2 separate regions of the Homo sapiens genome follow, and region 2 is linked to region 1. Evidence: promoter capture Hi-C in human tissues and cell types (Jung and others, 2019). All regions are on one chromosome and are shown on one strand. The core of a region is centred on a gene start or on the middle of the fragment in contact, and the rest is flanking DNA. Distances in the headings are between cores, read along the strand shown.

Region 1 (3,013 bases), core at 353-2,852:
TCCAACACCAGTCCAATTCCAGCCACGGCGAGGGAAGCCAGCTTGTCGCTGGAGAAGACCACAGCACACATGACCACCACGTAGCAGTCAAAGAGGGCTGCAAAGACCACCAGCACCAGCAGGGTCTCGTGGCGCTGCCTTTTGAAGTAGGTCTGGTAGAGGTTCTCCAAGGACTCCGGCACGAAAGTCAGCCGCATGAAGCGAGGCAGGCACAGGCAGGAGCCCGAGTTCCGGACCGAGATTTCATGGGTCCGGCCCACCCCGCGGTCAGGGTCGGAGGGCAGGCTGACGGAGTACTCGGCTGAGTACTCGGCCGAGTATTCGGGCTCGGAGAAGCCCTGGTTCCTCGGCATACTGGCTGGTGTCTGCTACTGGCCCTAGAGAAGTGGACTGGGAACGGAGGAAGAGCTCTGGACTGGGCCTCCTCTCAGGGCTCTCTGAGACCGGGGGAGGGCTGAGGGCCTCTTCTTGTCTGGGGCGGAGGGGAGGCCACCTCCAGCAGGAACGCAGAGCGGGTTTCCAGAGCACAGGTAGCACTGATCAGCTAGAACTGAAAAGGGCATTGCTGAGTAGAAGCACCTCTTCCCTCCTACCTTGCGGTTTCCCCATGACCCGCCCTAACCCTCATAAAAGGATCTCTGCTGCAAGAGCCTCCCAACCCAGGGCCTTCCCTGCCACCCCCGGCTCACACCACCGCCCACCGCAGGCACACTTAGTCCTGTCCACGCCAGACACTCAATTTCCTGTCCCTGGCTTGTGGAAGGGCCTAGCCGCCTTTCCATCCCTGGTAACCGGTTTCTCTCTGTCATCTCTTCTTTCTCAGTCCCCGACTTCCTCACCTAAATTCCCTCCAGGCCCAGTCCTTAGAAGCTGTAAATAAAATGTGCCGGAAAGAAATCAGGACCATCGTGGGGGATTCCTGAGCCTTCCTTCTGTTTACTTCCTTTTTCCACCAAACCCTTGGAGGCTCGGGCTCCGATCCGGCCCCCTTCCCACGCTCGGGGCGCTGTCTTCCCCCCCGGAAGCCTGGCCCTGCCCCTGCGTTTACCTGTGCGGGAACTCGGCCACCGCGTGCTCCGGGACGGTCCCCGCGCGGGCTGGGGCGGGAGAGCTCGGCGCGCCCGAGGGCTGCTCCCCGCAGAGCCGCGCCGCCCCGGCAGCGCCTCGGGGCCCGGCCGGAGCGCGATCTCCCGCCGTCAGGCCCGGGATCCGACCGGGAGAGGCGCAGGGCTGCCCCTCAGCATCCGCGGGCGCCCGGCCGCAGGGGGAAGGAGGAGGCGGCGACGAGGGCTGGGAGATCCGTGGGCGCCGGCCCAGCGCGCCCGCCCTGGGGCTGAGGCTCAGGGGCAGGGGCCGTGCGGGGGCCGGCAGGCGCGGGCGGCGGCGAGCGCGGCTCTCCGGACCCCTCCCCTGCACCCGCGGCGGCGGCGGCTGCTAGGGGCGCGCGCGGGGCCCTCCCCGGCGGGAGCGCGGGCCGAGCCCGGGGAAGCCCGCCAGCATCCTCTCGCCCGCCCGCGCCGAGCCGAGCCAGCCGAGTCCGGGCTCGGCGTGCTGCACAGCTATTCCCCGCGCGGCGCCGGCGGCTCCGGGGCCACGCGCGCTCCAGGCCCCGGGAGGCGGGAGGCGGGAGGCGGGAGGCGGGCGGGGCGGCCCCTCCCTCGCCCCAGTCTCCGCCCTCTCGGCGGCGCGTTCCGGAGTGGGGCGGCGAGGGAGGCGCCGGGCGGCGGTCCCAGGACCCGCGCGGGCGAGAGGTGGAGGGGCCCGGGCGGCCCCCGATCCGGCGCGGGCGGCGGGCTGGGGCGATGGCTGCGTGGAAGCGCGGGCGCGGGCGCGGGCGTGGGCGGTGGGCGGTGGGCGGCAGGGCTGGGGCGAATCCACCCCTTCCAGCGAGGAGGCCCGGTCTAGGAGGATGGAAGCCCGGGACGCGCCCGCCCGCAGGTGAGGCGCGCTCGGGGCACCCCGCCGCCCCCTCCTCCGCCGCGGCTTCCTTCCGGGCCGGCAGAGGCCAGGGCTCAGGTTTGGGGACCGCTCCGCCGCGGGGCACGTGGGGCCTAAGTATCCCCGCCCACCCCGGGAGCCCAGACTCCGGAGCGCCGGGCCTGAGCTTTCCGCAGAGGGGCTCGGCAGCGGAGCCCTGTCCTGCTCCCAGGAGGCGGGTGGCGGTGGCCCGGTGGGCACTACACACGTGGAACTGGAAGAGTTCCTGAGACCCTGCTTCGAAGAGATTTCCCGTGCACATTCTACCCGTTTGAGATGTGTTTGAGTTCACAAACTGTCCCTTAAAGATGCGAATGCTCCTTTGAATAGTTAAACCTATCAGTCTCTTACACCATAGTATAAATTATTTTCCTTGCATTTGACAGAACACCGTGCTAAGATCAACTACAGGCTTTGGGAATTTAAATAAAGGAAGAGGAAAGAGATAGAATGTTTTGGGACAAAAGGGACAAAAGCATGTGTGGGAAGGTAAGTGCTGAGGACAGCCAGCAGCAATAGGGGGTCATCTCCCCTGGGGAGAGCTGAAGGAATGAACAGAGGGGAGAGAAACTTGGCTATCCAGACCCTGGATGGAGCTGCCACCCCATGCCCCTGAGAGTTATCCGCGGGCACCCCTTCCAGAACCTCAGGCATCACCTTGCATCCCTCGGGGAATGGATCCATTAGAGAATCGATCCTGCCACTGCTGTTTCTACCGTTCCCTCACACTCTGTCTGAAAAGGCGCCACCTTCAGCCCATACTTCGCAGGGCTTTGATTCCAAAGGTAGGGGACCTAACATCAGATATAGGAGTTTGGTAATTTAAATAAAGCAAAACTTTGCCCCATTGTTTTATTTTATTTCTATTTTTTATTTTTTCGAGACTGAGTCTCACTCTGTCACCCAGGCTGGAGTGCAGTGTTGTGATCTCAGCTCACTGCAACCTCCACCACCCAGGTTCACGCAATTCTCCTGCCTCAGCCTCCTGAATACCTGGGATTGCAGGCACACACCACCAAGCCCGGGGTAATTTTTG
Region 2 (3,013 bases), core at 198-2,697, 420 kb before region 1:
CATTATACTTTTTTTTTTTTCTTTCTGGACTTTCTTTCTCTTGAATACCTGTGTTGTGGAGACTCCTGCAGTCTTGTTCCTTTCTGATGACCCGGGAGCCATATATACCAGTTACTTGATGAAAATGTCACTTTAAGATTCTTGTGGGCTGGGCGTGGTGGCTCACATCTGTAATCCCAGCACTTTCAGAGACCAAGGCAGGCAGATCATGAGGTCAGGAGTTCGAGACCTGGCCAATATGGTGACACCCTGTCTCTACTAAAAATACAAAAAATAGCCGGGTGTGGTGGCGCAAGCCTGTAGTCCCAGCTACTCAGGAGGCTGAGGCAGAAGAATTGCTTGAACCAGGGAGGCGGAGGTTGCAGTGAGCCGAGATCGCGCCATTGCACTCCAGCCTGGGTGACAGAGCGAGACTCCATCTCAAAAAAAAAAAAAGATTCTTGTGCTGTTTCTGGTCTCACCTTTGTACTTCAGTAATGTTGATTCTTTGGTGCTTCTATCCAGGTAAGGTTATCTTTGGTTGGTTTTGGATTCTTAGCCATAAAATTCTGCCTCTCAAGTTTTGTTGGTATTTAAATAGCTAAAGCTTAGTGTGGTTTGGTTTTGTTTTTATTTTTTTGGAACAAATTGCTTGGTCATTCTCTGTGTTTCCACTTGTAATTTGAATGGTTGATTTTATCTTAAAATTCCAGTTTGCCTATATAGTTAAAACATTTACATACTTTTATTATCAAGCATAGATTTGATTATTTAACAGTAGGTATTCTATTGTGAATGTATGTATGTATATAAACATATCACATCATATTTGACCAGATAGTTGAAGGATGAAATGTCCTTGAGTTTTGAAAACATCTGTATGTGTAATATTGACTTTACTTTGGTGAATTTGTTTGTAAGAAACAAAAAGTTATTTGTTCTGCAATGTCTAATATCTCCCTCTCCATTCTAAATGGTACAGGTAGTCTGTAATTGAATTTCTAAGTAGCTACTCAATCATTCGGTCAAGACGTAGTTATATGAGTACGTACTTTGTTCAAGGTGCTGTGCTGTAAAAAGATAGTGGTTATTGGGAAATTAACCGATAAAATATAGATCCTGTTCTTAAGCAGATTATGACCTGAGAGAGGTGATAAGACAAACATACAAATACCTATAATAGTAATTGAATGTGATGAGTGCTGTGAGACAGGTCCTGAAACAGTGCTTTGAACATTCAGGGAGAGGGAATGATTATTGTATTTTCATTTGAGAAAAATCAGGGCAAGTTTTATGGAGGACTTGGTGGTAGACAAAAGCATTGAGGGCAGGGGATGATTTCTTTAAGAATAGAGACAAGGAGAACAGTATGTTCAGGAAGATTAAATAGCAAAGATGAAAAGACGGAGTAATGCAGGGGAAAGTGCAAGGAGTGTGGCATCAGCTGAAGTGGGAGAGGGAAGCATATCGTCTAGGTGTAGTAAGAAAACATTGGTGGATTTTAATGGAGGGAGGTGGTGGGGAGCAGTATGTAGTAAGTATGTAGATATGGATGAAAATGAGAAATGTCAATTTTCCAAATTTACGTGGATCTTTTCTTGGCAGGTTTTATACCCCAAATTTCATATTTTTTGTTTTTGAAATGATTCCATATGTAAGGCTTACCCACATTGGGAACTTATTCACTCATTTTTATGTATATTTAAACACAGATTATATGGTTTTTTTTTTGAATAGAAGTTGGTACAAAATCTTTTTCACTGCCTTATACTTTTTTCGAATTAACTTTTTTGTTTTTTACTTTTGATTATGAATTATGCCTTAACCTACATGTGATATGAGATATGCATATTGCATGATACTTGCCCAAGAGTTAGCCAGTTGATCCAACATAATTTATTAACATATTCATTTTAATAATTCCCTACTATTTTGAAGTCTACATTTTGATGTTTCTATACTCCCTTTTTTCTGATTCTGCATTTCTTTATTCCAAAAATAGATACATCTATTTAATATGTGGCAGTTCCTTACTGTTTTATATATTGTTACTGATAAGGAAAATCCTGCCATCAACCTTAAAAAAAAATTTTAACCTCCCAGTGATTCTTAGATGTTGATTTGAGTTTATTAAATATATAGATGAATTTTGGACCAACCAGGATTGCAATATTCCAACATTCCTCCAGCATTGTTCTATGGCCCTTTGTTTATCAGATCTAATTTCATGCCCTCTAAATGTGCTTTATATTGTTCTTAGTGTACTTCTTTTCCATTTTATCTTCTATTTCATACCATTGACTTTTTTTTTTAAGCAGTAAGTATTCTTTTAAACAGTGTATTATCACTTGGCATTTTTTAAGATGATGCAGTGGACTTGTTTGTTCGGTGTAAAAATGTCTCTTTGTATAAATATAAGTGTATCTGACTGTATAAATGAGATTGGTCATACAAGTTGGAAGCCCCTGGCTCTCATTTATAGTTCATGATTTATTTTACTGATTTATTTATGCCTTGCCATGTTCCAAAAAGGATTTAAGGCAGGATGTGTCTTGAGGAGTCTTGGACCTTGTTCCAGCCCTGTCTATTATTTGACTGATGCCCCTAGCCAACGTTACTCGTTACACGGAGGGAACAGTGTTGAAGACAACTAGTGTCACTGAATGTGCTGTGGTGTGTCTTTTGCCAAACTGGTAGTAATTCAGAGATGATACAGTGTAATTGGGGTACCTTTAAAGATAAGTCCTTTAAACCTTGATAGCATACAACAGAAATTGGCTGGAAGTATCCCTTCAAGTATCCCTGCTGGGTAGGCTGATAAAGAGCCTTAACTCTTGGGACCCCAGGCACTTTTAGCCCGGTAGTTTCTTTTTTTCTTTCTTTCTTTCTTTTTTTTTGAGAAGGAGTTTCGCTCTTGTCGCCCAGGCTGGAGTGCAATGGCGCGATCTCGGCTCACTGCAACCTCCACCTCCCAGGTTCAAGTGATTCTCCTGCCTCAGATTCCCTAGTAGCTGGGATTACAGGCATGTGCCAC

Evidence for each region. The method cuts DNA at HindIII sites, captures the fragments that hold promoters and counts their contacts. A contact is called where the count stands out against the background at its distance.
Region 2: a contact is called between a fragment that was not itself captured here and the fragment with the promoter of ADCY3 in region 1, in 2 of the 25 tissues and cell types used here (dorsolateral prefrontal cortex and mesenchymal stem cells).

Annotation. Positions count from the first base shown.
Region 1 is chr2:24,918,635-24,921,647 of GRCh38, forward strand. It overlaps ADCY3 (adenylate cyclase 3), which reads right to left and starts at 1,603. Exons shown (of 22, transcript NM_004036.5): 1 at 1,049-1,603; 2 at 1-550. The coding sequence starts at 353. It overlaps LOC124907742 (a long non-coding RNA gene), which reads left to right and starts at 1,710. Exons shown (of 2, transcript XR_007086246.1): 1 at 1,710-1,938; 2 at 2,364-2,824. RefSeq lists silencers at 988-1,717, 1,748-1,807, 1,848-2,057, 2,068-2,157. The HindIII fragment of the contact is 12,687 bases long and covers 1-3,013 here.
Region 2 is chr2:24,497,250-24,500,262 of GRCh38, forward strand. The region is part of intron 1 of NCOA1 (nuclear receptor coactivator 1); the gene reads left to right. Among named protein-coding and RNA genes, the nearest start is that of NCOA1, 7.5 kb to the left of the region's middle. The HindIII fragment of the contact is 5,514 bases long and covers 1-3,013 here.